Linked DNA regions of Homo sapiens: region 2 is linked to region 1. Evidence: promoter capture Hi-C in 16 types of primary human blood cells and fetal thymus (Javierre and others, 2016). All regions are on one chromosome and are shown on one strand. The core of a region is centred on a gene start or on the middle of the fragment in contact, and the rest is flanking DNA. Distances in the headings are between cores, read along the strand shown. Region 1 holds the start of SYN3 (synapsin III). Region 2 overlaps SYN3 (synapsin III).

The links. The method cuts DNA at HindIII sites, captures the fragments that hold promoters and counts their contacts. A CHiCAGO score of 5 or more calls a contact.
Region 2: a fragment that was not itself captured here is called in contact with the fragment with the promoter of SYN3 in region 1 in 1 of 17 cell types (fetal thymus); the score reaches 5.3 in fetal thymus.

Annotation. Positions count from the first base shown.
Region 1 is chr22:33,055,520-33,059,729 of GRCh38, reverse strand. It overlaps SYN3 (synapsin III), which reads left to right and starts at 1,349. Exons shown (of 14, transcript NM_003490.4): 1 at 1,349-1,438. The HindIII fragment of the contact is 6,835 bases long and covers 1-3,194 here.
Region 2 is chr22:32,521,595-32,525,993 of GRCh38, reverse strand. All of the region lies in intron 12 of SYN3 (synapsin III), which reads left to right. Among named protein-coding and RNA genes, the nearest start is that of FBXO7, 49 kb to the right of the region's middle. The HindIII fragment of the contact is 1,640 bases long and covers 2,238-3,877 here.

The sequences.
Region 1 (4,210 bases), core at 100-2,599:
AGGGGTGGGGAGAGGGCCACTCCTGGCATTAATGGAATCACCTCTTAAAGGTCCCACCTCTCAACACTGTTGCATTGGGGATTAAGTTTCCAAGATATGAACTTTGGGGAACATATTTAAACCATAGCATCCCCTAAATCCAGCCTAATCCATCATCAAGCCTTCCTGTGCTACTTTTGACACACATTGCAGGAGGTCCACCTTTTCCGTATCTTGCTGTCACCACCCTGGTCTTCATCACCATAATCTCTTGCCTGAATTGTTCCCTCCAGATTGATATGACAAAGCCCTGACCCTCACGGTGGCCTACAAGGTTCTGGGTGATGGTGATTCCACACTAGTCTACCTCTCTGGCTGTAACCCACTCTCCCCTTGCTCACCTCACTCAGCCACCCTGGGGGCCAGTTCCAGCTTCAGAACCATGCATCGGCCGACCCCTCTGTCAGCAATGCTCTTGCTTCAGCCCTGGAATCGTTTTTGTCCTCCAAGTATCCAATATCACAAGCGGCCCGGAGACCACCCTAGGTATAGCAGTCCTAGACCCCTTTCTTTTTCTTTTCTTTTTTTTGGAGACGGCATCTAGCTCTGTTGCCCAGGCTGGAGTGCAGTGGCTCTAACTCGGCTTACTGTAACTTCCACCTCCCGGGTCCAAGCAATTCTGCCTCAGCCTCCCGAGTAGCTAGGACTACAGGTGAGGGCCACCATGCCCAGCTAATTTTTGTATTTTTAGTAGAGACGGGGTTTTATCATCTTGGCCAGGCTGGTCTTGAACTCCCGACCTCGTGATTCACCTGCCTCGGCCTCCCAAAGTGCTGGGATTACAGGCGTGAGCCACAGGCACCCAGCCGACATTCTCTTGTTTTTTTCGTTTGTTGTATATAACCTACCCCCACCTCCACCCCATGCAAAGTCCACGAGGACGATAGACTTTGTCTTGTTCCCTGTTGCATCCTGGCCCTAGGGCCTAGCCCACAACCTGGGACATTTCCTGACAAGGGGCCCTGGTTTCTCTGAGGTGCCACCTGAGGTCCGGGAGGTCAGCTGACTTTCCCAAAGGTGGATTCCAAGGACACTGCATTCTTCGCACTCCCCGAGGGGCGTCTAGACACTCCTGGGACCCAGAATTATTAGCTAACTGGGCTCCTGAGTCCGGTGAGAGCTCAGAGTCTAGAAGCAACTTTCCCTGCCTGGAGAGGTGAACCCAGCAAGGCGTTGGGGAGAGGCGTGGGCGAGGGAGTGGGCGCGGGTGGGCGGGGCCGTCCGGGGGCCTCGTTGCCCGAGCCAATGGGGCGCCGCGGCGCGGGGAGGCCGGGCCGCCGGGCGGGGGCGCTCGCGCGCGTTGAGGGGCAGAGGCTGAGCTCCCGGGACCCGGAGCGGATCGACTGGCGGGCGCCGCGCCGAGGCACCACCGGGCGCCGAGTTCCTGGCGGCTCGCACGGTAAGCGGCGCGGCGCCGCAAAGTAGACTTTGTGGGGTTTCTGACAGCCGGGAGACCCCACCTCGAGCGGGGGCTGCTGGTGCGTTCTCGCGTCGGGCTGCGTCCCCTGGAGCTCCGGCTCTGTGTCCGCGGGATGCGGGCGCACGGAGGGGCAGGGAGGGAGGCAAGGAGCCGCGCACCACGGTGTCTCCCCAGGCTGCCGCTGCCGGGGCCCTGGGCCGGTCCCTGGGACAGACAGATCGGCGTGCGGGGGCCGTCTGCCGGGCCCGGGAGCCGGGGGCGCGCAAGACTGTGGATCCTAAGACTGCCTCCACCCAGCGCCCGGCCCGGGGAAGAGCTTGCGGGAAACCAGGAACCGCAGCGGCCGGACCTCTGCTCTGCGCCGGCTCCTAGGACCTGCCTTAGGTCCCCAGACCCCTCATGACCTGTTGCCTTGGGTTTGGGAGGTCAGGTTTGTCATGCCATTTCCGATTTCCAGTCATCCTGGGGGCAGGATGAAATTTCAGAGTGGTTTCCTGGCCAAGCTAGAAGCAGAGAATAGCTATGGATACAGCACCTCGTGTATCTATCCAGCACTTACTTGGCTTTTTCTGAGTGCCAGGAACTGTGCCAAGCCCTAGCAGCATGAAGAATGGCCTTTGGGGAGCTTCTGGGGCTAAGAGGGACAGTAGGAGGAGCAATTGCAGTGCAGGGTAGTGCGGAAGACTCGAGATGGAGAAGAGGACGGTGAGGAAGCCAGGAAGGTTTCAGAGAGGAGGTGAGCATTGACTGGAAGTCGGAGGTTTTGCCAGGCTGAAAAGTGTGTTGGGACTGTGAGTTGATAGGGAGCAGGAATTCCAGGTGGGTTTTCTTGTGTAAAGGTAAAGAAACTGAAAAGGTCCGGTGTCCTGACCTAGCACATCAGATAATTCTACAGCAGATAATGGAGTAGGACCGGGTCTTGCTGTAGGTAGGAAATGAGCTCTCGACATGGCAGGAAGCTAAAACCTGCACAGACCTTAAAGTGCAGCCTTAGAATATTTAGAATTTTATCCTGGAATGAAGGAGGGCCGTGGAAGAATTCTGATCAGTGATCAGGTCCCTCTGGCAGCTCTGGGGACAATGGATGGAGGCCGGAGCATCAGAAAGCTGGTAAGTTGTAGTTGTTTTCTGGTCCTTGGCTGCAAATACTCTTCCCTGCTTAAGGGAGCCCCCTCTGCCCGGGAGCCCTGCTCCCTGGCTTCTGGACATGGATTCAGGCAAAGAGATGCTGCCCGTGTAATGCTTGCTTCTGCAGCCTGCACATCATTTTGATATTGTTTCTGGAGCCTGTGACCTCAGTCTTGTCATCAGGCCTCTGAAGGGTGCCTCTGCTCTTCTTTTCTCATCTTCAAGCCCTCTGTGTGCCCTTCCCCTCTGCCTGGGCTCCCCTTTCTGTTTCACAGAGATCCAGTCTCAGCCATTGGAGGCAAGGCTGTGTGTAGATTGGTGTAGTAGAAAGAACAAGGGCTCGCTGGGAAATCAGACCAGAAAGTCACTTTAGCCATAGGCTTTGGGGACATTAGCAACCTTCATGAACCTTCTTTTTCTGATTTAAAAGGAAATCATTGTACTCACCTGTCATGGTTTGGGTTCCCTGGAAAAAGACTTGGCGCTTCTGAGATTTTTGTGCAGATAAGGGAAGCAGAACTGGGCAGAGGGAGATGTTGATCTATGGTGCAGTGCAAGAGAGGTCTCAATCCCTCCCATGAGACAAAGAGACGAGGCCTTTGAAGCTTAATGTTGATCAGCCAGTGGGTGCAGGCTGGTCCTAGGGAGGGAGCTAGGATGTCCCTTCAGCAGGACAGTTCCTGACTAGGGACTCACCTGGGAGCTGGGGTAACCAACACTCTGGCAGCTGGACATGGGGAAGTCATGAGTGTCTTGGTCTTGGAGGGGGAGTTGAGCATTTCCCCACGGTATCCACTACACTACCTCACAAATGAAGTAGTGCTTTGTACTGTGCCTGGTGCATAGTAGATATCTTAAAAGTATTCATTTCTCTCACCTTTAAGTTTCATGACTGCACCTGAAAATGAGTTTTGGAATTCGAGTTGAGTCAGCTTTTGTGAGGAGCTTTTAATAATAATAGCCACGAAGACTACTGCTTCCCTTTTTTGAGTGTCTATTATGTATATACATTCTCTTCTAGTTGTCCAATAATACTCCAACTTAGGTACTTTTATTCTCATTTTATAGTAAACCCAGTCTCTTCCAAAACCCAACCAAGTTGATGTTCTTTTGCCACAAAATAATAATTATAATAATAACAATCACTCACAACTCTATGATTTGTTACACTTTCCAAAGTGCTTTCATTGGTGGATTGATTGATTAATCATTCATTCATCCACTAATTAATCAATCAATGTGTATTGAGTGTCTCTTAAGGAGTAGGCGCTATCCTAGGTGATGGGGAGAAAGCTCAGTCTATTAGAGGAGATAGACATTAAATGCTTGGATTCATCAAAAGCAAGTGTTGAGGGGTGGAACATTGCATTGCATAGCCAGTATGTGATAGAGAATAACAGGCTCTTTGTCCAATTGACTCCTTGCCTTCAGTTTCAATATAACCTTCTTGGAAAGGCCTTCTGTACTCCCTCCCTTTTATTCTCCCTTCGTAACAGTCATTTATCTATTTTATTTACTTTCCTATTGTTGGTCCTCCCCTTTAGACTGCAGACTCCAGGGGATCATACATTGCTTCATCCCAAGAGCCTACCACAGGGTTTAGCACATATTTCTTAAATGAGT
Region 2 (4,399 bases), core at 1,808-4,307, 540 kb after region 1:
TTACTGATCAGGGTACTGGTTGTTGAAGCAAGGGGTGACTGAGGCAATTTATAAAAATAAGGCAACAGTGAAGTTAGCTGCATGCATTGACTCACCCTTTCACACAAGATTTCTCTGCAGTACGTGATGCTGTGTGATAGCATTTTACCCATAGTAGAACTTCTTTCAAACTTGAAGTCAGTCCTCGCAAAACCTGCTGCTGCTTTATCAACTAAGTTTACGTAATATTCTAAATCCTTTTGTTGTCTTTTCATCAATCTTCATAGCATTTTTTTTTTTTTTTTTGAGACGGAGTCTCCTTGTCGCCCAGGCTGGAGTGCTATGGCGTGATCTCCGCTCACTGCAAACTCCGCTTTCCCGGGTTCATGCCATTCTCCTGCCTCAGCCTCCCGAGTAGCTGGGACTACAGGTGCCCACCAACACTCCCGGCTAATTTTTTGTATATTTTTTAGTAGAGACGGGGTTTCACCGTGTTTGCCAGGCTGGTCTCGATCTCCCGACCTCGTGATCCGCCCGCCTCAGCCTCCCAAAGTGCTGGGATTACAGGCATGAGCCACTGCGCCCGGCCCCTTCATAGCATCTTTATCAGGAGTAGATTACATCTCAAGAAGTCACTTTATTAGCTTATCCATAAGAAGCAGCTCCTCATCAATTCAAGTTTTATCACGAGGCTGCAGTAATTCCATCACATCTTCAGGCTTCACTTCTTATTTTAGTTCTCTTGCTATTTCCACGACATCTTCACTTACTTCCTCCACTGAAGTTTTGAACCCCTCACAGTCATCCATAAGGATGGGAATCAACTTCCAAACTCCTGTTAATGTTGCTATTTTGATCTCCTCCTATGAATCCCAAATATTATTAATGGCATCTAGAAAGGTAAATCATTTCCAGAAGGTTTTCAATTTCCTTTGCCAAGATCCATCAGAGGAATCACTGTCTATGGCAACTATAGCTTTATGAAAAAAATTTTTTTTTTGAGACAGAGTCTCGCTCTATAGCCCAAGCTGGAGTTCAGTGGTGCAATCTCGGCTGACCGCAAGCTCCACCTCGCGGGTCCTGGTTCAAGCAGTTCTCCTGCCTCAGCCTCTCAAGTAGCTGGGATTACAGGCACGCGCCACCATGCCCAGCTAATTTTTGTATTTTTAGTAGAGATGGAGTTTCACCATGTTGTCCAGGCTGGTCTTGAACTCCTTACCTTGTGAGCCACCCGCCTCGGCCTCCCAAAGTGCTGGGATTACAGGCATGAGCCACTGCACCTGGCCAAAATGTATTTTTAAAATAATATGACCTCAGATTTTAAATTACTCCTTGATCCATGAACTAAAAGACGTGATATGTATTAAAAGGCATGAAAACAAAATTATCTTGTACATCTCCATCAGAACTATTGTGTGGATAGATGCATTGTCAATGAGCAGTAATATTTTGAAAAGAATCTTTTTTCTGAACACTAGGTCTCAACAGTAGGCTTAAAATATTCAATGAACCATATTGGAAATACTATGCTGTTATCCAGGCTTTGTTTTTCCATTTACACAGCACAGGCAGAGTAGATTTAGCATCATTCTTAAGGGCCCTAGGATTTCCAGAATGGTTAATGAGCACTGGCTTCAACTCTAAGTCACCGGCTGCACTAGCCCCAACAAGAGAGTCAGCCTATCCTTTGAAGCTTTGAAGCCAGGCATTGACTTCTCCTCTTTAGCTATGAAAGCCCTAGATAGTATCTTCTTCCAATAGAAGGCTGTTCCATCTACACTGAAAATCTGTTGTTTAGCACAGCCACTTTCATCAATAATCTAAGCTAGTTCTTCTGGATAACTTGCTGCAGCTTCTTCGTCAGCACTTGCAGCTTCACCTTGCAGTTTTTGTTATGGAGATGGCTTCTTTCCTGAGACTTCACCCACCAACCTCTGCTAGCTTCCAACTTTTCTTCTTTAGCTTTCTCACCTCTCTCAGCCTTCATAGGATTGAAAGTAGTTAGGGCCTTGCTCTGGATTAGGCTTTGGCTTAAGGCAATGTTGCGTCTGGTTTGATCTTCTTTCCAGACCACTCAAATTTTTCCGTATCAGCAATGAGGCTGTTTTGATTTCTTATCATTTGTGTGTTCACTGGAGTGGCACATTTAATTTCTTTCAAGAACTTTTCCTTCACATTCACAACTTAGCTAACTTTCTGGTGCAAGAGGCCTAATTTTCAGCTTGTCTTGGCTTTCAACATGCCCTCCTCACTAAGCTTAATCATTTCTAGTTTTTTTATTTAAAAGTAAGAGATGTGTGACTTTCCCTTTCACTTGAATATTTAGAGGCCATTATTGGGTTCTTAACTGGTCCAATTTCAATATTGTTGTGTCTAGGGGAAAGGGAGGCCCAAGGACAGGAAGAGAGATAGGGAAATGGCTGGTAAATGGGGCAGCCAGAACACACACATTTATCAAGTAAGTTCACTGTCTTTTTTTGTTTGTTTGTTTGTTTGTTTTTTGAGATGGAGTCTAGCTCTTTTGCCCAGGCTGGAGTACAGTTGCACAATCTCAGCTCACTGCAACCTCTGCCTCCTGGGCTCAAGCGATTCTCCTGCCTCAGCCTCCCGGGTAGCTGGGACTGCAGGTGCATGCCACCACACCCAGCTAATTTTTTTGTATTTTCAGTAGAGAAGGGACGTCACCATGTTGGCCATGATGGTCTCGATCTGCTGACCTTGTGATCCGCCTGCCTTGGCCTCCCAAAGTGCTGGGATTACAGGCATGAGCCACCACGCCCGGCCAGTTCACTGTCTTATATGGGTGTGGTTCATGGCACCCAAAAACAATTATTAATACAATAGTAGTATCAAAGATCACTGATTACGGATCACCATAACAGATATAATAATAATTTAAAAGTTTGAAATTTGTGACAATTGTCAAATGTGAGGCACAGACACCACATGAGTACATGCTGTTGGAAGGACAGCATTGACAGACTTGCTCAATGCAAGGTCGTCACAACCCTCCAATTTAGAAAAAACACAGTATCTGCAAACTGAAATAAAATGGACCACAATAAAACAAGGTATGCCTGTATAAAATACACATTAGTATTCTCCTTCAGGCAGATCTAGTGTGTTTGAATCCAGTTCCGTATCTCACTGCCTTTGCAGTGTTAGGCAAGTCATATTACTTCTCGGGGCCTCAGTTTCCTCAGTGTAAAGGAGGAAATAACAGCTTCCATGTTTAAGGATGGGGTGCTTGTCCATGAGATAAATGCAGGTGAAGCAATTAGCAAGGCATCAGACACAGAGATAGTGCGTAGAAGGTGTCAGTTCTTACTACTAATAATTTACTACGAATAACTATGACATAATGCTTACTATTAATAACGTGTGTCTTATACATATTGCTTTTCATGTTTATTATTAACAATCCTTGTAACTAATGCAGTGCCCCGTTACCCAGCAAGAATTCTATAGTAATAAGTGTTCCGAAACTACATATTCCTCACTCTACCAGGCTCCTGGCTGTGCCTCTGCCCCACACCCTCCTTTCCCCTCTGCCCTGGGACCTGCTTTTTAAAAGCACATTTGAACAGAGCCGTTTTAAAACAGAGAGCTACTGTATTCTGATTTCCTCTCTGGCCCAGAGTAAAACATGCTTGATAAAGAGATATTATTTTAAGGGAAATGAGGCTAAACACACTTTTAGTGAGTTGAAAAACAATCAATTTAAAACCAATTAAGGTAATTAAAGAAAATGCCCAGTGAATTAACGCTCAGATTAAAAATAACAAGGCTAATGAAAAACAACGCTTTCATTGAGTTCCCCAATTAACAAATCACATTATTATTTTGAACTTGCTGTTCATTTCAACTCAGTAAAAGTGAAATTTTCTTTTAATAAGCTTCATGTCTGTGCTTAGGCAAATACTTTCTATATATGTTAATATTTTGTGTATGTGCTCATATGAAAAATACTAAATTGTTTGCTTTGCCAAGAAGCCGAAAGAAATAACTAGGGCAGTGGTAATGGTTAGCACTCTGGTCTCTGAATCCAGTAACTAGGGTGTCTCTCTTGATAAATCCCAGGTATATGATAGGGACTCAACAAAGAGTTACTGAATTAATGAATGGGTATTCACATTTTCTAAGATATCAACCTGGGAAGGGAGGCGAATCAGGGGAAACTGAAGATAAAAGTAGAAAACAAATGTTTTATTTGAACTGCGGTGGGTTTAGAAAACCCAAAAGTAACCAACATTTAAAAATCAGGAGGTGAGCTGGGCGCGGTGACTCACACCTGTAATCCCAGCACTTTGGGAGGCTGAGGTGGGCGAATCACAAGGTCAGGAGTTCGAGACCAGCCTGGCCAATATGGGGAAACCCTGTCTCTACTAAAAATACAAAAAATTAGCTGGGCGTGGTGGCG